Linked DNA regions of Homo sapiens: regions 2, 3 and 4 are each linked to region 1. The links are contacts of gene promoters, found by promoter capture Hi-C in human tissues and cell types (Jung and others, 2019). All regions are on one chromosome and are shown on one strand. Each heading gives the region's core, a stretch centred on a gene start or on the middle of the fragment in contact. The rest is flanking DNA. Distances are from core to core; before and after follow the strand shown. Region 1 holds the start of KCNK9 (potassium two pore domain channel subfamily K member 9). Region 2 has its middle 300 kb from the start of COL22A1. Region 3 overlaps TRAPPC9 (trafficking protein particle complex subunit 9). Region 4 overlaps TRAPPC9 (trafficking protein particle complex subunit 9).

Evidence for each region. The method cuts DNA at HindIII sites, captures the fragments that hold promoters and counts their contacts. A contact is called where the count stands out against the background at its distance.
Region 2: a contact is called between a fragment that was not itself captured here and the fragment with the promoter of KCNK9 in region 1, in 1 of the 25 tissues and cell types used here (dorsolateral prefrontal cortex).
Region 3: a fragment that was not itself captured here is called in contact with the fragment with the promoter of KCNK9 in region 1 in 2 of the 25 tissues and cell types used here (H1 embryonic stem cells and dorsolateral prefrontal cortex).
Region 4: a fragment that was not itself captured here is called in contact with the fragment with the promoter of KCNK9 in region 1 in 2 of the 25 tissues and cell types used here (mesendoderm cells and spleen).

What each region holds. Positions count from the first base shown.
Region 1 is chr8:139,699,467-139,705,258 of GRCh38, reverse strand. It overlaps KCNK9 (potassium two pore domain channel subfamily K member 9), which reads left to right and starts at 2,136. Exons shown (of 2, transcript NM_001282534.2): 1 at 2,136-2,549. The coding sequence starts at 2,267. RefSeq lists a silencer at 2,119-2,413. The HindIII fragment of the contact is 18,854 bases long and covers 1-5,792 here.
Region 2 is chr8:139,213,441-139,219,235 of GRCh38, reverse strand. No RefSeq gene overlaps it. Among named protein-coding and RNA genes, the nearest start is that of COL22A1, 300 kb to the right of the region's middle. RefSeq lists enhancers at 3,532-3,671, 3,063-4,262. The HindIII fragment of the contact is 3,763 bases long and covers 1,717-5,479 here.
Region 3 is chr8:139,992,205-139,997,794 of GRCh38, reverse strand. All of the region lies in intron 18 of TRAPPC9 (trafficking protein particle complex subunit 9), which reads left to right. Among named protein-coding and RNA genes, the nearest start is that of C8orf17, 64 kb to the right of the region's middle. The HindIII fragment of the contact is 7,978 bases long and covers 1-5,416 here.
Region 4 is chr8:140,012,341-140,018,602 of GRCh38, reverse strand. All of the region lies in intron 18 of TRAPPC9 (trafficking protein particle complex subunit 9), which reads left to right. Among named protein-coding and RNA genes, the nearest start is that of C8orf17, 84 kb to the right of the region's middle. The HindIII fragment of the contact is 6,590 bases long and covers 1,546-6,262 here.

The DNA of each region.
Region 1 (5,792 bases), core at 887-3,386:
CCGAAGGTCAAGGAAAAGCCCCTCGATAGCCTAAAGGGAGAGGGCGGGGAGGGGGAGGAGGTAAAGGAGGCCAAAATGGGAAGGAGATAAAGCCTGGAGAGGGCTCATCTGGAAGCAGGGAATAGGTGCGCCCCAGCCCGAGCCTCGTGTTCCTACCCCAGGTGGTCTCGAGGGGGCTATCGCGTGGCTCAGGGCTGCATCCACGGCGCACCTTGCGCCCAGCTGTGGGGAACCAAAGAGTGATTATATATATCAAAGAGTGATTATATATATATATATATATATATATATGTGTGTGTGTGTGTGTGTGTGTGTGTGTGTGTGTGTGTGTGTGTATTTTTTTTTTTTCCTTCAGTAAAGCAACAGAGAGGTTACTGGGTCGGGGGATTGCGATGTCTTTCCCCGCTGTCCTGACTCCAAAAGTGGCGGCCCATGCTGTCCTTAGCGCTCTCCAGGGAAACGACTCGGGTCTGCAGGTGCTGGCCCAAGCGGGCTGTGCCGCTGGGAGGCGAGGGGGCCGAGGCAGCCCTCGGGACCCCACCACTCCACGAGGCCATGTCCCTGGCCAATGACACGCTCCCGCGCCGGGTGGCTAGGTGGGGGGTGGGGGGTGGGGAAGACTTCGTGAACCGCTGCTGCCGCTCTCCTGTGTGCCCATGGCCCCCTCCCCTTCTGCTCCCCACTCTCTGCCCAATCTGCCTGAAGCTGTCAGCCTGCCATCTCTGGCTGAATCCCGTTTTCCTCCTCCAACCCCGAGTCCCTCAAACTCTCCACCCGCCAGGGCTGCTTGCGCTCTTGGGGAGCGGGGCTAGAAGGACCCAAGAAGCCGCGTTTATCCTCCCATCCCCCGCCAAAACCCGCCGGCGGCTCCGCCCCCGCCCCCTCCCTGGCGGCTCAGGCCGCCCCTCCCGGGCTCCCTCCGCGTGCGCCCTGCGCCGCGCTGGGTCTGCAGCGGGAGCTGCCACAGCAGCCTCGCCAGCTGGCTGGGGACCAGGCGGGAGGTGGCGCGCCCTGGAGGCTGCGGGAGGGAGGGAGGGAGGGAGGCCCGGCCTCGGCGTAGCCCGGCCCCCGCTCCCCGAGGCCCTCCCGCCGGAGCGGGGCTGCCAAGCGCACACACACACACACACACACACGCACATACACACGCGCACACACACATTCGGGCTCCCAACGGCGCGCACGCACGTAGCGCCCGGGGCAGACCAGCGCGGCGGCCGCCTCCCGGGACGCCCGGACGCCGGAGGGCCCCGACCCCCGCGCGGCTCATGCGCCCGCGTCCGCCCCGCTGCTCCGCGAGGCCCGCGGGACCCCTCCCGCCGCCGCCGCCGCGCCCGCCGCCCCCGGAGGAGCGGGCTGGCCGACCGCCACCGCGCCGTCCCCCGGCCGCCCCCGAAGCCGCTCCATCGCGGTCCCTGCCGTCCTGGGGCCGCGCCCCGCTCCCGCGCCTTGGGGGTTGAGCCGAGCAAACTTCGCGCACCGGCCGACGCCCGGCGGGGACCCCGCTGCGCACCCGCGCGCCCGGGTGGGCGCTGGGCGCGCGGACCTTTGGGGAGCGGGCTGCCCCTCCCGCTGCACCTGCTCGGCCCCCTCCCCGCTTGCAGGGGACTCCAGAGACACCGCCACTTCGCAAACTTTTCCTCCCCACCACCGAGAGGGGGCGAGGAGGGGTAAAAGGGGAAGCAGGTTCCGCTGGGCGCGCGGACCTGCAGGCTCCTTGCTGGGCACCGCCACCCGCGAGCTGGACCCACAGGGGTACCGGGCCCCGCGGCCGCCCTCCGGCCGCTTTCTGGCTCCGGTTCCCGTCCCTGCGTTTCCCGCGGGAGCGGGGGGCGGGGTGCGGAGGGCAGCAAGGCCCGCGCGGTACCCAGCGGGGCCGCCCTGCATGGCCCTGCGCAGTGGGGCGGGCTGCTTCGGCCGGGTCTGGCGCAGGGTGTCGGGGTTCCCGGACGCCTGGCCCCGGCGCTCGAGCAGCCTCCTGTGCCTGTCCGCCTTCTCGGCTGAGCCCGGGCCCGCGCCGCCCCTGCCCCGCCAGCCGCCTCGCGGTGGCGGTGGCTGTGGCGGCCCCAGCGGAGGGGGCCCCCCCCAGCCTCCCCGCCCCCCGCCTCCCCGCTGCTGCTGCTGCTGCTGCCGCCGCCGCTTACAACTTGGAGGCGGCGGCGGCGGCGGCGGAGGAGGAGGCGGCGGCGGCCGCCGGGCGCTGCAGTGGGACGCGCGCGGCTGTGAGCCTGCGGGACATGCCCCCCGCGCCGGCTCCTTGCTGGCGGCCATGAAGAGGCAGAACGTGCGGACTCTGTCCCTCATCGTCTGCACCTTCACCTACCTGCTGGTGGGCGCCGCCGTGTTCGACGCCCTCGAGTCGGACCACGAGATGCGCGAGGAGGAGAAACTCAAAGCCGAGGAGATCCGGATCAAGGGGAAGTACAACATCAGCAGCGAGGACTACCGGCAGCTGGAGCTGGTGATCCTGCAGTCGGAACCGCACCGCGCCGGCGTCCAGTGGAAATTCGCCGGCTCCTTCTACTTTGCGATCACGGTCATCACCACCATAGGTAAGGGCTGGGCGCGCCGCTGGGCTCCCGCGCCCCGGGAGGAGTCCGGGGAGGCGGCTGAGCGCGCCGCGCCGGGCTGGGTGCAGGGCGTCGAGGGTTAAACGCAGCCTCCCTTGGGGGCCTTCCCGCAGCGCCCCCTCCTCTCTAGGGAGCCCCCCCTCCGCGGCGCCTCCGAGCCTCACCCTTCGGGGACCCCACCCGGTGCTCTCCACCGCGCTGGTGTCTGGGCCGGGCGTGCGAGCCCCGAGCGAGTGTGCCTGAGCCGGGAGGGCGGAGGCGCCACTTTTGCGAAGAGAGTGGAGCGCTAAGAATAATCCCATAGCAGACACCCACCCACCCACCGCCCCGGCGCGGGCTGGGCTGCGCGGGGCTCTGAGCCTTACACTTACTACCTCTCTGGGAGTTGGAGAGGGCTGGCCTGGCACCCATGGCTCCTAGAGGGACTCAGGTGGCAGGGGAGTGCGCCTGGGGCGTGAGAGGCACTGACCCTCCGTAGCCCCTGGGCCCCGCTCCAGGCTTCTCTGAGCTCAGATTTCATCTCTCTTCCCCCCGCCCGGCTCCTTTTTTCCCCTGAGTTCCAGTTCTGGAGCTTGGACTTCCCAGGCCCCTGGGAGGAGAGAGTTTGCTCTCTGGTGCTTGCGTTGGGGGTGGCAGCCCCTCAATTGCTCTCAGTAGAGGTGGAGAGTGGGGGCAGGGCAGAACCTGCCCACTCCCTAGGCTGTGACACTGGGAAAGGCCAGTCTAGACATTGCCCAGAAACCAGGGAACTTGAGCCCCAGTCACGAGAGGGGGTCCAGCTGGTAAACTGCAGGGATGCCCGCCAGCCCCACTGCCAAGGGCGCTATTCACAGAGCAGGGTCTCTGGTCGGTCCCGAGGGCAGTGTCCCCTCTAAGGCTGGGGGCTGGGAGGACTCCCGGACGTTATACTTGGAGACCTGTGGGAGCTGGGGCAGGTACCTTCATTCGGGTGGACGTGGTGGATACCCTGCATGGCAGGAGGCAGGGTGGTGTCTCTGTGGTTCACTTGCCCCAGTGAGGCAGGCTGCCTCTCTAGGGCCATCTCCTTGGACTTGCCAAGGCCAGTGTGTTAGTGGGGGTGGTCTGTTTCCTGCACCCCTCAGGGCTTCACACCCCTGTGCCCTGGGCAGGGACCTCCTCCTTCCCCCCTCCCTTCTTCCCAGCTCCTCCTGTCTCGCTTCTCTGGACCTCCTCCTCTAATTTCCCTCTTGATATTTTTCTTTGTCTGGAAATCTCTGCATACTGAAAAAAAAAGGATTTCTCAGTGCCATATGCAACAGGAAGCGCCAGCACAGGACGGCCTGTCTTTCCTTCTTGGTTGAAAATACTTTTTAGAGAGTCATCTTGTTTTAAATGTTTAATTCATTGGTGCAGGTTTTTCTGTTTGTGAAGGAAATTGTCCTTCTGTTATCTACATAATCAGCTTGGCTCTTGCTTGCCCCACGCCCTTTGCCCAGCACCCCAAACACAGATGACTCCTTCCCTTCCCACACTGTGTTTCCAGCTTCTGAGAGGGCCAGTCATTGCCATTTTCTCTGGCTTTAAACTGTGGCAGTGGCACGCAGATGCACAGGGCAGTGATTCTGGGAGACAGGGGCCTGTTTGCTGGAGAGCTGGAGAGTAAGAAATATGCCTCTGAAACTGGCCACCCCTGGGGAAAGGAGAAAGCCCCAAGGCCCTTAAACATGCCTTTAGGGTTGAAGATGGAAGACAGGTGAATTTGGCTAGCATGCTGGCTTCCAGTAGTAAAACAGGCACATAAAATGCTTGGCTGATCCCGAGAGTTGAGCGACAACATCGAGGAGAGGATTGGTGTTAAAAGCAAACTCTGAAATGTGCCAGTTTTCCTTAAGAAATGCATTGTGGAGACTGATGAAGTTCTTACTGAGGTGTGTTTCCATGGTTGATTCTGATTGGTAGCTCTGGGTGTATGCCTGTAACGGTTAAAACTCCAAAGAGAAGCTGTCAAGGGAAGTGTAGCTAAATGGAGGGTGTCGGCTTCGCCTCAGGGGCTGTGGGACTTGTATGAATAAGGGACCAGAGGCCATCTGAGGAATTCGCTGATTTTCCTCGCTTCCTTCTTTGGGCTTTCCACTGATTTTCTGGAAAGAAAGGTTGGGAAAAAAATGTGTGTGTGTGTGTGTGTGCGCGCGTGTGTGTGTGTGTGTGTGCGCGCGCGCGCGTGTGTGTGTGTGTGTGTGTGTGTATGTGTATGTGAATAAAAGACAGCTCTAACACTAACACAGCTGTCCTGTTGTGGAAAGATGTTCAACTTGGAACCCACAGACCTGGCTTGGAATCTGAATTCGGCCATAGTGTAAAGACCAGAGAGAGGTCATTTCCCAACTCCTGACCTCAGTTTCCCCACCTGCAGAAGAGATGTCTCACAATAACTACCTGACAGGCTGACTTTTAAGGTCCAGCTGAGATCCCGCGGGCTGCAGCTGCCAGGCACAGTGTGGCCGGCACTTAGTAGGAACGGAATCCACGCTCTTGGACGAAGCCTGATCGAGCCTCCGCTCTCTGCCCTAAGAAGCTGTTTAGCACAAGAGTTCAAATTTACAGGAAACAAAGCACCTTTCCAGTTAATTCTGTTTGTTTTTTTTTCTTTTTTTAATATAAATGCAAATTAAGATGCTCCTAGGCCTAGAACAAAACCCGGCCCCAAGCCTCGCCCTCCAAGGATTTGTCTCCTATTGGGCAGTGATATTAATGAGTCAGGTTAATCTTCATTGGCGTTTTGATTTTTAATCTAACCTTGAGCTATTTCTTGAGCATGCTTTAACTTTTTGCCCAAATCTCCAAGGCTGGGACAGGAGCCGCTGGTGCTGGGCGGCCACGAATGAAGGCTTCTTCTCAGATGCAGCTATTAGCTTGCCCTGTGAAATGGATTTTTAAAACGTATGTAATTACCACTTTGCGTTGAATCTGTGGCCGAGCCTTCCTAAAAGGCTTTGGAGGGATATTACCCTGAGTCTCACCCCAGCTCTCTGGGGATCCCGGGGCACAGTGACCATTGTCATAACCAGGGAAGAACGGGAGTCCAGCTGGGCCCCGCAAAGGGCAAATTCAGTTACATCATTTATCAGGCTCTGTTTCCATTCCTCCCCATTTGCTTCCTTTGATGTCTGTGCCACTTGTAGCTATTTCTGCGGAGATTATGTTTAGTTCTAAACTTGTGAAGTGCTAGACCTTTGCATGGGAGACCCTCGTAGGTACCCTGTA
Region 2 (5,795 bases), core at 2,349-4,848, 490 kb after region 1:
GCAGGTTTCTTACACAGGTAAACGTGTGCCATAGGTGGCTCACTGCAGAGATCATCCCATCACCTAGGTATTAAGCCCAGCATCCATTCTTACTGATGCTCTCCCTCCTCCCACTCCCCACAGGAGGCTGGAGCTATTATGGTCCTTACAAGGAAGGGGGAATGAAGCTGGAGAAGTGGTTTGGTGGCCAACTCTGAAGAACTCTGACAGGCCCCAGTGTGCGTTGTTCTTCCCCCATGTGTTCTCATTATTCAGCTCCCACTTAAGTGAGAACATGTGGTCTTTGTTGGTTGTGAACCAAGGTTTGTCTTCTCAGCACGTTAGGATGATGCTCTACATTAATCGATTGTTTTCAGTGGCTTTGGCTGATCTTCTTAGGCTCTAAGCACTGCTTACTTGAATATCAATGATTTGCAGAGAAACCAGCTGAATGCTAGGCCCACTTTTCTGTGCCTAGTTTCTTACTGGCATCTTGGGTCCTAAGTCCTGGCTGCCTTGACACCCCCAAACCCCATTTTTGGGGTCTCTCCTGCCCTGTAAGATTTTCATTCTGATTTCTCTGCCTTCCAGCAGTGGTCCTTTGTCAGCTGGATTATGTGGGATCGTAGCCCCCATACCCTCAATCACGAATTGGCAAACACACTGAGGAAAAGTCAGGTGCAGAGTGTGAGTATATTTTTCTGCATTTCCTTTCAAAACTCTTGGTTCCCCAAATCCCAAATGCTGCCATAGCGATCTGACTCCTTGGAACACATCTTCTGCTCCTCTGTGGGCTCTTCTGTTTGTTCTTCAGGTTGCATTGCTCTGCTGCTTGCCACTCCATCATGGCTGGAGGCAGAAGTCCTCAGGGGAGAATTCGATCTAGGTGGTGGCATTTCTGATGAACCCAAGAAGTGGAGCTGATACAGGCAGGTCACTTGGCAGCTTCAGAAACGAAGCTACAGCAGAGGCAGGTTGTAGGCAGAGTAAAAAGCATAAGCAAAGTAAGGAGGAAGAAATGGTGAACACTGGGGTAGGAAATGAATAGTTCAGAATGGCTGGAGCTATTTTATTATGGGGAATGAAGCTGGAGAAGTGGTTTGGTGGCCAACTTTGAAGAACCTTGAATTTGGGCTCCCCCTCCATGACACAGCAGAAAGCTATTAAGAGATTTCACCAAGGCTGGAATTTCTGAGAAATCTTTCAGCAGACAGTTCTGACAATTCAGTGAAGCACCCTGTGGGTCTGAGATGGGGGGGACCAGAGGAGCTGGGGAAACGGCAGGTTGACAGGGAGTGTAGCATTTGTAATGATGTATGTGTGGGGTGTGGGGGAGTGTGGCAGGACTAGATAGGAGGAGAGGCGTGGAGGAGACCCTGGGGGAACCCTGAAAGTTCTTCCTGAGCTTAATGTTGTGTTGTCTTTCCTATTAAGCTGGCCATTCATGAGTCACGAATCTGTAGACATATGTGTCAACTTACATTCTAAAAAACAAGGCAAAATTAACATGGAGAGTTTTATCTGGGCCAAGATTGAGCACGGCTGCCCAGCTCAGGACACTCTGGGAAATGCTGTAGAGAACAAAGACGGCAGCTAGAGATTTGAGAGAAAAAAGGACAACTCAGGAGAGGGGGCGATTACAAAAGTCGTGTTTCAGGTAATCTCACTGTTTTACAGGAATGATGTTGATATGTTATTGGCTCATGTTATTCAGGTTTAGAATATGAGTTATGGTTTCCAGTGTTTGGCATTGTTAGGTTAATTTCTGGCTACTTACTGTCAGCTAGTCTAGAGTCCACATAGCAAGTAGCTTCCAGAAGTGATTACTTACCTCAGGCAGGGAGTGAGAGGTGACTGCCACATTTCAATGCCTCTCTGGGCCTGATAATTTCAAGGAGCTCACATTCCTCAGACAAAAAATTTGTCTTTCTCATTTGTAAATCCTTCTAAGAGGGAAGCAACTGTCTGGCTTTGAATCCATAAGAATTTATAAAAGGCAGAGGCTAAGAATGACATTTCTCATTCATACAATTATAATGATCAATCAGTGTTTGCTTTCCTCTGGGACAAAGGTTCAGGACGGAAAGCAATTGCCTGTTGAGTGTGCCTCTTTCTCAGGAGAGCTAGTTCACCGCCCGGCAGGCAGGAAGCCTCGCGAGGGAGCATTCACCTTGATTAATGCACCAGCATCCAGGGGCTTGCAGGCTCGGAAAGATGATTTCAACAGCCCCCGGGGGTGTTGGCTTCGCTTAGAGGGCGCTCACATTAGCTAATCGCGCAGGAGTGGATAAAGTGAACCAAACGCCACTTTATTAAATTACAATGAGAAGTAGTTCTGCCACACTGGTAGATGTATATTCATGTGTCAATCCCATTCTCTCCCTGTTAAGCAGACCTATCAGAAATACCTGGAACCTTTGAATAATTCAGGAAAATAGTCAGAGCTATGCACACAAATATTTACATGTGCAAATGTTACAGTGTAATTTGTGATAGAAACAAAACAATTAAACACCCTGCAGTGAGGGGATCAGTTGAATAAATTATGGTAGAGCCAAATAATGAACTAGCAGGCAATGATTTAGAATTATATTGATAATTAATGTGCAAAATACAGGCAATATATTCATTTAACAAAGCAGATTGAAAAAGTATGTCATCATTGAATGTGTGTGCACAAAGAGGAGAGAGGCTAGAGTAAAACATTACATTTTTGACATTTATCCCACAGTGATCGTCCTTGTATTTGCTTGAATTTTCCATTTACTCCTAAGGAACATTTACCATGTTTACATTTAAAGTATGTTTATATGTATGCTTACATATCACATATCAACATATGACATGGCTGTAGAAGAAGTTTCAGACAGCAGAGTATCCTAGCAGAAACCTTTTGGAGTCAGGCAGATCTGTCTGAAATCAAGACTGCCAATTTCTAGCTTTTAGAGCTTAGGTTTTAAAAAAAGATAATTTACCTTTCTTTGCATTTGTTTATTCAAAATGGGGATAAATGGGAACTACCTTATATGATTTTTGTGAGCTAAAATGTAAAGCATTTAGCATATCATGAGTGCTCAAATGAGGGAACTATTTTTATTATTGTGAAAGGAGAAGATGACTCAGTTTTCTTCCATACAGGGGCTCTTGCAGATGTGATTTTGTGACTCAGAGCAGAGGCTGCTGATTGGATGGTTCGAAATTTTCCTGGCTTCAGGGCATGCAGCTGCGAGTGTCCTTGGGGTGAAGGCAGCTGGGCCCAGGGCAGCTCTTGCTGGGCACCGCCAAAGTTGGCCTTGATGACCTTCCTTTCTTTCTGTTCTCCATGGACTGACCTGTCCTGCTCCAGTGTGTCTGTGTTTTTGTATGTTAATGACGTTAGTCTGGGCAAGGATGGTCATAGGTCATCCCTTCTCCTTAGGAAGAACAGGGACGTCTCTGCTCATCCTCTTTTGTCTCTCTGATGACCTCAGAATTAATTTATGACCACAAAGCACAGACAGGTATAAATACGGCGCCTCCTATGAACCCCCTGCACACACAGCATGTGTCTTGCTTCCAGTACTGATAGACGACAAGGACAACAACACAGGTTCTGGAACTTCTAAGCCCAGGCCTCACTGACACTCTTGCAGTTGGGTTTTTTGTTTTTGTTTTTTTTTTAAAGCAATGTTTAAATTCAAGCTCTGCCTAGTCTTTCTAGCTGTATGATTTGGGGTGAGTCACTTCCTCTCTCTGGGCCTCTGCCAATTTCAGATCTCCCACCTGAAAGGGCCTTTATGCCTCATCATGTCCAACCTCCTCATTTTTTTTTTCTGGTGAACAAACAATCACTCCACCCCCATCCCAAACACTCTGTGGCCTCATTGATCAGCCTTGGCTCACCCTCACCCCCTTCTCCAGAACAGTGGAGGCTTGGAGTCACAGAAGAGAGGACCTTAGGAAGGAGGAGGGAGCTGATGACTCATGGAGGGGATTTGACAGCCGCCTCCTTTGCGGAACCAGGAAATTCATTAGGATGGAGTCTCATGCCCCGAGGAATTGCATTTCTGATTTTAGTTTTCCGTTATCGACCTTTATTTTGCTAATTACAGCTATGGCTATGATGTGTTGGGTCCCTGTTATAAGCAAGTGCAAGGTATACGAACGTTTTCTATCTAATTCTTATGTCAATGTTTCAAGGACATTAATGTTATCCCTATTTCCAAGATGAGGATATTGCATATTAGAGATTAGATTTAGAGATGACTGGCTGTCAGACCGCTAATAGTGAGCTGTATAATAAAATTGGTGATTACTAAAACAGGAATAAGGTGGAAAGCTTATTAAATCTCACTTTCTCTTTTACAAGTGAGGAGAATGAGGCTTAGAGATGATGGGGAGAAGGTCCAAGTTCACACGGCTGAATGGTATTTCAAGGACTCAGACCTCCCTGTCTCTTCCACGGCCTTCATGCAGCCTCTCCTTGCATCCACCGTTAGCTCTAAGATATTGCTCGATGTCTGTGTCACTGGGCTGCCTCTGCTAGGTTCATTTTGGAAACGAGCCCTCTCTCCAGTATTTAGAGATGTCCATGGATTCAGGCATATCCATCCACAGTCGTAAGTCCTTTTGGAGAAAATCTGACTCAGCGTTTTAATACAAGATAAAAGAGTATCCCCAAAGAGCCACCTGCAGCCTGATCAAGAGTGGCAAGAGGAGGGCATAGATCCAGATGGCCTTGGTGAGAGAGAGGAACTGAGAACAGTACTAAATAGTCTGCCATTCTGTATTATCCTGGTAATTTTGGTCACCTCATTACCTGTCTTTCGGAATCACTGTCTTCTTGGTTCCTGAATAGTGTGCTTAGAACAATCCTGGGGTGATATTTACCATAGTTCAGGGTCAGACTCCATATCAAATTATATTGCATGTATAGTCAGAGTGTGTGAGTATACAGTAGGTGCTTAATAATTACTTGTTGAATAAATGAGCAAAAGAATGAGAGTCTGACTTTCATATATCCAGGTCGTGGACTCAAAGTGATCAGAGAACCAGAATGGCTCAATTCAGCAGAAGGACCACAGACTGATGCCAAGCAGATGTGACTTCACATGCTGGGGTTGACAGACTGATGCCAAACAGACGTGACTTCACATGCTGGTGTTGACGTGTATTCATGACATTTGAGACTCAGTTCTCTTTTTTCTAAAAGAGGATGACAAGTTCTTACCTGTGTGGTTGTTGGGAGGATTAAAATTTTGGGCCTAGTGCCTAACAAAGTACTGAGCAAATGTTAGCTATTGCTGATGCTGTTCTACTGTAACTGTGAGTTTTAACTTATGAAGATGATGGCAATGATAAAGTCTGGCCAATAGTCCTGGGCAGAGTGGGCCAAGTCCATCAGACCGGCAAAGGCTGGGGCCAGGGATGCAAGGAGCTCCAGCGGACCCTTTCCAGGAGTTTAGCCTTCGATTCTAGGAAATGCAATAAAGTAAGCCCAGGACAGATGCTGGCGTCGGGCTGCCGTAGGGTGAGCAGACGAGTCATCCTGGCTTAGAGGGATGTGGAGGGTGGATTCCACTGGGCTATAAAATCTATGAGTAGAAAGAGGCGTGGGCTGGTTTTGTTGCCTTTTCTAAATTGTGCTGTTTGCACTGAGTTCTGTTTCAGTGAATCCTGAGAGAGCCTCTGTCTAGAGACCAGAGTGAGACGATGGAGGAGGTGGGAGGTAGAGGCCCCGCGGCCGCCTCTTCCTGGGCCTGCAGCGCCCTCTTGTGGCTCAGAGCCAGAGCATCCACTCCAGGATTCTGCAGGTGCTGCTGCAGAAGGGGTGCTCC
Region 3 (5,590 bases), core at 178-2,677, 290 kb before region 1:
TCCCTGTGTAGGATGCACTGTCTCCCCTGTGTAGGATGCACTGTCTCCCTGTGTAGGATGCATTGTTTCCCCTGTGTGGGATGCATTGTCTCCCTGTGTAGGATGCATTGTCTCCCCTGTGTAGGATGCACTGTCTCCCTGTGTAGGATGCATTGTTTCCCCTGTGTGGGATGCATTGTCTCCCTGTGTAGGATGCATTGTCTCCCCTGGGTAGGATGCATTGTTCCCCTGGGTAGGATGCGTTGTCTCTTCTGTGTAGGATGCATTGTCTCCCCTGTGTAGAATGCATTGTCTCCCCTGTGTGGAATGCATTGTCTCCCCTGTGTGGGATATATTGTCTCCTCTGTGTGGGATGCATTGTTCTCCTGGGTAGGATGCATTGTCTCTTCTGTGTGGGATGCATTGTCTCCCTGTGTAGGATGCGTTGTCTGCCCTGTGTAGGATGCGTTGTCTGCCCTGTGTAGGATGTATTTTCTCCCCTGGGTAGGATGCATTGTCTTCTCTGTGTAGGGTGCATTGTCTCCCCTGTGAGGGTTGCATTGTCTCCCCTATGAAGGATGCACTGTCTCCCTAGTGTAGAATGCATTATCTCTTCTGTGCAGGATGCATTGTCTCCTCTGTGTAGAATTCATTGTTTCCCTGTGCAGGATGTATTGTTTGCTCTGGCAGCTTTCCAGATGGCTTCTGTTCTTTAGCTTTCTGCAGTTTGATTATGTTTCCAGGCAGGGATTAAAAAAAATAGTTTTTGGGTCAGGCGTGATGGCTCACGCCTGTAATCCCAGCACTTTGGGAGGCAGAGGTGGGTGGATCACCTGAGGTCAGGCATTCGAGACCAGCCTGGCCAACGTGGCAAAATCCCGTGTCTACTAAAAATACCATAAAAAATGTTTAGCCTGGTGTGGTGGTGTGTGCCTGTAATGCCAGCTACTTGGGAGGCTGAGGCAGGAGAATCGCTTGAACCTGGGAGGCAGAGGTTGCAATGAGCCGAGATCACGCCATTGCACTCCAACCTGGGTGACAGAGCGAGACTCTGTCTCAAAAGCAAACAAACAAACAAAAAAATAGCAACAACAGCAAAAACAAAAAACTTTTTGGGTTTCTGAATCTGTTTATGTCATTTGCCAATTCTTTTTGGGGGTGTGGCCATTATTTATTTAAAAATGGCATGTTATTTTCTTCTTTGTTTCTTAGTCTCCTGTGACGTGATTTTTAGAGGTTTCGTTGTCCCATAAGAGTGTTTTTTTTTTCTGTTTTATTTTCCCCTGTTGTTTCCATTGGATAATCTGTTAATCTATCTTCACATTTACTTGTTTAATTCCTTACTGATCCCAAAAACACATTGTATGATTTTTATTTTACAGTTGTTAGAGTTCCCCCACCACCCCCAACCCATGGTCTTGGAATGTGATTGGTGGTAAATATTGCATGTACACTTGGGTAGTATGATTATTCTGCTGCTTTTGGGTGGAATGTTCTCTGAGTATTAGTGAGATCTGGGTGGTCAATGGTAATTTTGTTTATCTTATATTCTTTCTGATTTTATGTCTACTTGTCCTCTCAGTTACTAAGATAATTCACCATGTGGTGAATTTTTCTTTTTTTCTTTCCTTTCTTTTTTTTTTTTTTTTTTTTTTTTGCTTAAGTTTTTCTGGTTCTTTTTTTATCTTCTTTTTCGCTGAGATTTTCCGTCTTTTCACTTGTTTCAAGTATGGTCAGTTCTTGGAATGCATTTAAAGTCTCTTTCTAATAAGACAGTCATCTTGAAGTTATTGTCTGTTACTTACTTTTTCCTCATGACTTGATATTTTCCTGGTTCTGTGTTGAGTTATTTTAGATCGTATTCTGGACATCTTGACTATAATATTGGGAGGCATTGGGATCTTGTTTGAATACTGAGGAAAATGTTGGTACTTTTTTTTTTTTTTTTTTTTTTAATGCAGAGTACCTTTTGCAGGCTGTGCTGCAGTTCCAGTTTCAAAGCATTTGTGGTGCTTCTTGGATCAGCCGCATGTGGGTGCCCGTCGGCATTCTTGCCTGGAGATCAGTTATCAAAGCCCGTGGTTTGCTCTTGAGGGTCTGATTCTGTCAAGCTCAGCTCCCTGGTGAGCTTAGGAGTTCATGCTTGACTTTGTCTGCTCTCTGAATCAATCTCCTTTCTGAAATCTTCCCAAATTACTGGGGGCTCTTATCCCTATGTGCCTGCTACAAAGGCAGGATATGAGCTTCCCCCTCTGTGTGTCTACATGGAGGACTGACTGTCCAGAGGCACAGAGAAGGAAATCAGAGTGATGCAAACTGGCCCCCTGGTTTTGGGACCTCAGCTCTTTGGGTCAGTGAGGTGGTTTGTATCAGGGAGGTGTGTGAGCCTGTCCCGCCAATACTGCTCTGATGTCATTATCTCCTGTGGTTTGCTTTGAGGCTGGGCTGGGAGAAAAGGGAAGAAAAAAGGGAAAAGACTCAGGGATTCTCCTACTTTCTGTGGCCCTTCATAGTACCTTTTCCCACTTGTTGGACCAGGAAGAGAGGCTGCCCTGGGAGCTCTGTCTGGCTATACACAGGGCACGCCTCTGGAGTCCACGCTGCCTTTCAGTTGAGGCCAGGTGGTACTGGAGAGAGATGCAGCTCACTGCCAGTTCAGAATAACTTCAGTTTCTGGCTCCTACTGTGATCCACCTTCTAACATTTATTTTTTGAGTCTTCATCTTCAGCTCAGTGCATTCTATGATTTATAGTTGCATTCAGTGGGAGAGACAGGGTAGATTGTGCTTACTCCATCTTTTCCAGAATTGGAACTCACCATTTTTTTTTTTTAAACACAAACCAATTCATGTCACTCATCTGCTTAAAACTCTCAAAATACCTTCCCATTTTGCTTGGAATGAAATATGAGTATTTCCCCATGACCTTTCCTCTGTTTTTACTCCTACACCACTCTCTGCTTGTTCTGTTCCTTGATCACACTGTGCCTTACGATTTTTGCTTTAACTGCTCATTCTCTCTGGAAAGCTGTCCTCCAAGACCATCACATGATTGCTTTCTTGTTGTTGGATTCCTAACTGAAACATCATTTCTTCAGGGAGGCCCTTGTTTACCATCAGATCTGAAGTCATTTTAAAACATCCGTGTTAATGTCAAGAGACTCACTTAATTTTTAAGAAATAGTTGTGTCATACATGTCTTATGCTCTGCCTCATATAGTAGCCCACTTTTAGACTAGCTATTGCCGTGGCAACCAAATTTATGCAGGTGTCACCTGACAGCACCTTACCATAGCCGTCGTGAGCATCTCTTGCTTTCTGGAATATTCTAACTGCCTTCTCTGAGGCTGTAGGTTTGGGTGGCTATGGGTAGTCTCTCTGCACAGTGCATGGATGAAGTGTGAGAGAACTGACCCCTCTGGGGGAAAGCTTGACTAGTGAGGGAAAGAGTTGGGAGAGCAATTATTTCCTCTTCTGTGCCTCAGGCGCACAGTGTGAAGCGCAATCCTCTCGGCTCCACAGAAGGACGATGATTGAGCCCCAGCTGCCCACAGGGCCGCCAGCTCAGCGACGCACAGCAACATGCCCTCTGGCATCACCTTCTCCTCTGCTGCCCCACTTTGCCTACTCTACATGCTTCCTGGCATCCCTTCCCTAAGCACTAGCTCTGTGCAAACCCTTTTCTCAGGCTCTGCTTTCTGGGGGGATCCCAGGCTAACACATTAGTCTAAATGACTTTAAAAGTAACTTTTTATAAGACATTTCAAGTATAAGAAACATAAATAAATGTCTAGGAGGTATCAATTTGTCTACCATACAGACTTGTCCATTTTTAATATTTCAGTATATTATATTTGCTTTTATGTTTTTAATTTAAAGAAATAAAAATATGCTGTTAAAGCTCTGTATATTCTTCCACACTGTGTCTCTTGCTCTCTTAGCATGAATGACTACTCTTAAATTTGATATTTATAGATAATATCGAGTATTTTAAAACATATTTTAAAATTTGATATACATATATATTGTATATCTTCTGCAACTTATTTACCCAGCAGTTTTAATATGAGATTTGTCTGTGGTGGGGCATATAGTTCTTTTAAATTCATTGTCACCTCTGCATAGGTTTCCATCATATAACTCTACCATTGTATGTCTGTATCTACTCTCCAGTTGATGTGCACTTAGTTAAAAGCAGTTCTTTACTTTTATAAATGATGTTGCATTGAACACTTTTGAATGTGCCCCTTTACCAAACTCTGAGTTGATCCAAGATAGGCAGCTACAAATGGAATTGTTCGGTCAAACTCTTTTTCTGTCTGAAGGAGTTGTACCAATTTGTATCCCTACCAGCAGTGACAGGAATTCCCGTATTTCCTGTTGATCTATAGCTTGACCAACTCTTGGTACTGGGACGCTTTAAAAATATTACCAATAGGTTGGGTGAGAAATAATACTCTTGGGGTTTATTTCCATTTCTCTAACTACTAGTTGGATTGAGCTTCTGTTCCTGTTTATTGGTCATTGGGTTTCCCCTACTTTAAATTATTGATTCTTGTCCTTTGCTTAATTTTCTATTGGGTCATTTTTTTCTTACTGATTTATAGGAGTTCTCTATAAATTCAGAATTCAAATCCTTAGTCAATTTAATATGTTGCAAATGCCTGTGAAAAGATATTTGCAACGCATTAAAAATGAAGCTTGTCTTTGCTTTGGTTTTTGATGTTTTTCATTGTACCAAAATTCTTAATTTTAATGCAGCCAAACATTTTATTCTTTTCCCTTATATTTTATATGTATTGTAACTCATTTGAGAAGTCTTTCTTTTTTCCAAGGTCATGAACTGTTCATCTATATTTTGTCTAAAGATTTTTAAATATTGTTTTTCTATATTTAGCTATTCATTCTGTTTGGAATTTATTTTTATATATGATGTGAGGTAGGGATCTAATTTTCTGTGTACCTGCATAGTCATTTTTCCCAGCACTATTCAGTGACTCTTGTCCTAATTAATCAATGCCACCAATACAATCATCTCTCCAGTTTCCTTATATTCATGGGTCTGCTTTGTAGCTATCTTTTCTTTCACTAATGTATTTCTCTGTCACTGCCCCAAGTGCCTCTGTCTTCATGATTACAGCCTTATAACAATTCCTGACATCTAGTAGGCCAGATTCCTTCCAAAAAACCTCCCACATCATTGTTTTAACAAAACCCTTTTGGGATTTTTCTTATTGAGTTGCATTGAGTTTATAGAAATTTGGAAAGAGATAATTTCTTTAAAAATATTAAGTCTTTCCATCTTTGAACATAACGTGGGTTGAGCATCCCAAAACTTGAAATGCTCCAAAATTCAAAACTTTTTGAGCACTGACGTGATGCTCAAAGGAAATGTTTATTGGAGTGTTTTGCATCTCCGAGTTTTGGATTTGGGATGCTCACTTGGTGAGTATAATGCAGGTATTCCAAAATCTAAAAACAAAATTTGAAACACATCTGGTCCAAGCATACTCAACCTGTACATCTCTACACTTATTTTTCTTCTTTAATATTGTTCCATGAATTTATAATTTTTTACATAAATATCGTGCATATATTTTGTTAGATTTATT
Region 4 (6,262 bases), core at 3,591-6,090, 310 kb before region 1:
GTAATCCCAGCACTTTGGGAGGCTGAGGTGGGTGGATCACAAGGTCAGGAGATCGAGACCATCCTGGCTAACACGGTGAAACCCCATCTCTACTAAAAATACAAAAACAAAATTAGCCGGGCGTGGTGGTGGGCACCTGTAGTCCCAGCCACTTGGGAAGCTGAGGCAGGAGAATGGCGTGAACCTGGGAGGTGGAGCTTGCAGTGAGCCAAGATCACACCACTGCACTCCAGCCTGGGTGACAGAGTGAGACTCCGTCTCAAAAAAAAAAAAAAAAATCACTTACGTTTCTATATACCAGCAACTAACAATTTGAAAATGAAATGTAAAAAATAATATATGCAGTAGAATCAAAATAATAAAACACTTAGGAAAACATTTCTACAAATCTTATCCCTACCTAGAAAATGACAAAACATGATAAAGAGAAATGAAAGATGACTTAAATAATTAGAGAGGTGGCTGGGCACGGTGGTTCATGCCTATAATCCCAGCACTTCGAGAGGCCGAGGCAGGTGGATCACAAGGTCAGGAGTTCAAGACCAGCCTGGCCAGTATGGTGAAACCCACTCTCTGCTAAAAAATACAAAAATTAACTGGGTGTGGTGGTGGATGCCTGTAGTCCCAGCTACTTGGGAGGCTGAGGCAGGAGAATCACCTGAACCCAGGAGGTGGAAGTTGTAGTCAGCCGAGATTATACCACTGCACTCCAGCCTGGGCAACAGAACGAGACTCTGTATCAAAAAAAAAAGTATACCATGCTTAGTGATTGGAAGAATTAGTTTTTCTTAAGATAGTGGTTTTCCCCGAACTGATTGTAAGTTGAATGCAATTCGGTCAAAATCCTAGCAGGATTTTTGTTTAGTGGAATTATAAAATTATTTTGAAATTGAACAGACCTAGAATAGACAAATAACTTGACAAAAAAGAACAAAGTTGGAGGACTTACACTGTATGATTTTAAGACAATGTAAAGCTATAATAATCAAGAGAGTATGTTATTGGTGTAAAGACAGAAAAAGAGATCAATGGACCATAATAGATAGTCCAGAAATAGTTCCAATTGTATCTCATCAGTTGATTTTTAACAAGATGCAAAACTAATTTCATGGGGAAAGAAAAGTCTTTTTAATAAAAGATGCTGGAACAACTGGACGTCTGTGTGGGGGAATAAAAACAACCCTTCACCCATACATCACATCTGCCCAAGAATTCACTGGAGATGAATTTTAGGCCTAAAAGTAAAACCTTTAACTGCAAGCCTTCTCAAAGAAAATGTAGCACAGTATCTTCTTGATTTAGGGGCAAATATTTTCTTAGATGGGGCCGGAAACTGCTAACCATAAAACTAAGACTTGATAGGACAAATTTCATCAAAATTAAAAACTTCAGCTTATTAAAAGGCAAATTACATTCTAAGATAAAAAAATTGTAACATATTTATGTAACAAACGTCTTGTATCTTATTGATGAAGTTGTACAATTCTAAAAAGGTGATAAATAGAAAATTTGAACAGATATTTCTCAAATGACCTGTTATCTCCGAAAAGTGTTCAACATTATTAATCATTAGAGAAATGCGAATTAAAACCCCAATTAGATACTACTATATACCCACTAGAATGGCTAAAATTAAAAAACAGAACACCAAATGTTAGGGAGAATGTGAAACAGCCAGAATTCACATAAACTGCTTCTGGGAGTATAAACTGGTGCAGCCACTTTAGAAAATCAGTCAGGCAGTTCCTCATGAATTAAAACATATTCCTCCCCAGTGATCCAGCAATTTCATTCCTAGATATTTTCTCAAGAGAAATATAAGTCCACATCCACAAAAAGACTCCTGCAAGTATTTTCGTAACAGCTTTATTCCTAATAACTCCAAACTGGAAACAACCCCAAATGCCCATCAACAGGTAAATGAATAAACAATGTGGGGTGCTGCCACACAATGGAATACTCCTCAGAAATAGAAACTGCTGGTACATGCAACAAAATGGGGTCAGCACAAAGTTACGATGCTGGTCAAAGGAATCGAGTCATAAAAGAAACATACTGTGTGACTCCATGTGTACACCTTTCTAGAACAGGAAAACCTGTTTTATGATGAAAGAAATCTAACCAGTGGTTGACTCTGGGTTAAGGTAACGTGGGGCAGGAATTGACTGGGAAGGGATTTGGGTTAGCAACTGTCTGGTTTGCCTGGGATTTTCTAGATTTTAGCTCTGAAATTCCCTCACCCTAGCAAAGTCCTCAGTACAAACCAGGACAGTTGGTCGCCCTAAAGGGAAGAGAAAATATCTTTCTGACTTGATGAAATGTTGCATATATTGATAGGGGTATGGGTTATAGGGTTGTAGACAAATAATCAGACTAGTATACACTTCAGATTTGTGTATTTCGTTGTATGTAAATTTTAACCTTGATTTAACATTTCATGTACGAAAATATATATACGTTGGAGAGAGCACCTAATTTTTACTGGGGAGAGCTGGAAAGGCATCACAAAAAAATGAAACGTTGTACTAATTCTTGAGGAAAGAAGGATTTCACCACCCACAGTGGGAGGAACAGGAGAGGTGTTAATGTTGGGTTTCTGGTTCTTCCACTGGATTTTGAGCTCTGTGGAACATGCAGCCAGGTGGTCAACCTCTGCCTCCCAGGACCTAGCGCCTTGCCCCACGGTGGGCAGCCGGGGAAGGTGTAGGAATGACAGGATGTAAAATACCAAGGCTCTATTCATTCAGGTGTTTCTTTTGTATAAAAGGGATGACCCCGTTTATATATATATTTAAGTTCTATTTTTCTTTTCTTTTGCTCGGGCTGGAGTGCAGTGGCACAACCTCAGCTCGCTGCAGCCTCTGCCTCCCAGGTTCAAGTGATTCTCCTGCCTCAGCCTCCCGAGTAGCTGGGACTACAGGCATGAGCCACCGTGCCTGGCTTATTTTTTTTTTATTTTTATTGTTTTTCATTTTTAGTAGAGACAGGGTTTCACCAAGTTGCCCAGGCTGGACTCTTAACTCCTGACCTCAAGTGATCCACCCACCTCGGCCTCCCAAAGTGCTAAATTCTATCTTTCTTAATAGGGACCTGTGTAAATTGCAAGGCCTGGAACACAACAGAATTAGTATGCATTTTCGGCTCTTGGCCTTTGCAGTTTATTGAAGTTACGTGATGCATGGTGTATTGTGAATTCATTACTTTTCATTTTGCTCACAGGTGAAGATTTGTACTCTGGCATCACGCCATGTTAGAGTTATATGCATCCCCAGAGATGGCCCATTTCAACACATTTGCATCACAAACGAGGCCCGGAGAGTTTTCTGATTTGCTCAGGTTCACACAGCTTGCAGGTGACAGGGCTGGCATCTAGATGTCCTGGCTTCCAGGCCACTGCAGCATGGACAATGAAGATGGCCACATACATGCCAGTGCGAGCCTACACAGAGATTCAGACTAATTTTGGTGCAAATAGAAGCCAAATATATGTCAAAGGACTACTTTACTGCTGGCATAACATGAATCATATACTCTATTGTGAAACCAAAATACAAATGGATGTGAGTTATTTACTCCTGGGGTAGTCTGTTTGTCTGCTCCTCTCACTGATACTGATAATTTCTGCAGTTTTTCTTATTGGTATTTTTTAAAATGATGGTTTTCTATATGAGAGCATGGGAAGGAAGAGCAGTCCTATTTATTCACGGCCTGCTAGACTCCAGGGCATGCCCTGGGTGTTGCGTCGGGCATCCCATGCACACTCCCGAGAACCCTCTGACATTGGCATTCCTATCTGGGGGTGTTACATTCCTCACCTTGTCCTGTGCGTTCGTGAGTGGAAGGGAGGCAATCTGAACTGTGGCCTTGGGGACACCCAGACCAAAGCTTGCTGCCACACCTGCTCTGACCTGGGAGCCTGGAGTCCTGGACTCTGGTGTCTATTCTGCCGCTGGACAGACCCTTTGTAGGAGCCGTATCTTTGGAGGAGTGTGTTTCTCTGCCGCAGCTTGGTCTCTGCACTCCCTAGGGGGAGAGTGAGCCTCTTAGCTCTGCTCACCTCACCAGGGCGATAAGAGAATCCATTTAAATAACAGAGGGGGCAGTTTTTTCTAAATGCCAAAGCCCAATATAGATAGGTAGAATTCTCATTATTATTATTATTATTTTTACTGTTCTCCCACCAGGGAGTACATAGGTCTCAGTTGACTTTTATTTAAAAGATCAAATTACCTTTGAGATTTGCTTTTTACACAGAGCTGCCTGGTAACCTTGTTAGGGACGAGATGGAAATGGATTAGGCTGGACCATCCCTGTCTGAGTGCCGAGCCTCCCTCTCTCCTGAGGAGCAATTTCTTTCTAGCCTGTTACAATAAACGATCCACTCTTAGACATTTCTACTCTGATCTATGTGGAAAATACACTCCTCTGAGCGGGGCGTGGGGTGTAATCGTTACGACATTATTGATAGACACCCTGCCACCGAGGCCTTCGTCACTTTCCCTGTGTGGTGGGGACAGCTCACCCATGGAAGGGGCACTGTGGAGTTTTATCGTGGTAGATCTTTTTCCAGTTGCTATGTTTACTTAGTAGATTGGTTTTAAATTTAACAAGAATTTAGAATTGCAGTGCACACCAGGAGTGAGAGCCCCATGCGCCTGTATCTGATTTCCAGTGTTGATTCTCCTGCTCATTGGCGCTGTGGTTTTGAGCGAGCCATTCACATTTCTCTCAGCATCATTTTTCCTTCATCTTGAAAAGGAGATAACACTGACTGTGCAGGGTTGTAAAACTGTGTGTTATAAAGTGTCTGAAAAATTATTAACAGTGCCTGACACAAGGCAGATAATTGAAAATTGGTGGTTGTCATTTTCCTTGTGTGTATGCACTTCTGTTGTGTGTCAGGTTCTAGGGACAAAGGGATGAGCCAGTCTTGTAAACACAGGCGGCTTTGCAGCAGCTGGCTCCAGCACTCCCGAAGGACATCACTGACCTCAGCGGATCCTGAAGCCTTTGTTGGCCTCCCTTTCACCTATGGTCAGCTCTCTGAAGGCAGCCACTCTGTGACTCTTTGTTTGGGCAGCAGCAGGTGAAGTAAGTAGTCAGTGGTCAACCGAAGTTTTGAAGAAACGCTGCAGTGTGAACGATGTGTGGCAGGAGCTTTGGAGACAGAACAACTAGATTTGCGTTGACCAGCCGGAGGACCTACAGTGGGATTTGAGTTGTTTGTTTAGACGACTGGGGAGTACAGTTTCCTTTCCTTAGGGTCAGGAGTGGCTTGACAGGAAGTGCAGTGCTGGAGAAGGGAGAAGTTTGGAGCCCCAGTACAGACAGGTTCCTGGAGGAGTGCACGGAGAGGCGGGGTCACGGTCCGAGTGGAACCCAGCTGCTGCGACTGTGATGGGCTTGATGGGCTTGAACTCCATCTGGCCCTTACCTGCCGAGCAGGTACCCAAGAGCAGCAGCATCTTTTCACAAAAGCATTAATTATCCATTACACTTAGGGTCCCATTGACCAGGCTGTTAGCGTTCTTCCTGCCTCTGTGTGGCCCGCTCAGCCCTGTGCATGTAGGTGTTGAGGCGCTGTCGTCTCAGTGTGTGTAAAGGAACTGGATCTGGATGGTTATTGAGCACACACTAAGTGCCAGTTGCCTTGCTACACACCCTGCTCTCCCTGTAACCCCTTTGCTTCCTTAGGAAGCATTTTCCAGGTGTTGCCACTTTTCAGAACTTACGGTGACCCTCTGCAAGGTGAGGTAGTCCCTCAATCCCCTTCAGAGGCTCATGGGAGACTTCAGCGCCTGTCCTTGTACATTTGACATGCTAGGGAGTGTGGGCTAGAGAACGTGTTGCCCCGTGTTGCAGGTGAGGGACTCAGGCAGAGTGAGAAGAAAGAACGAGCTTGGTGTTGTTCGTGGCTGCATCAGGACCCTAGTCACTGGGGGGCCTCGGCCTGACCAGCAGGATGCAGGAGGGCCGAGAGGTGGAGGACCTGGGTTTTGGAGGCTGACTGCCTCATGTTGGAATCCCAGCTCTGCCATGTTGGGCAAGTTACAGAATCTTTATAAAGCGGGCCTCCTTATCGGGCTGTCGGGAGGATTCCAGTAAGAAACTGTGTGCCTGATGCGTGGCAAGCCTGCAGCGCATGGGGTCCACGCCCTTCTTCCCTCTCATTCTCAGTCTTTACAGGTATGTTACAGGCAGTGTCTTTTCTGTGTCTCCCCTTTTAAGTAAGTCTCTCAGATGACTGGCACGTGATAGGGAC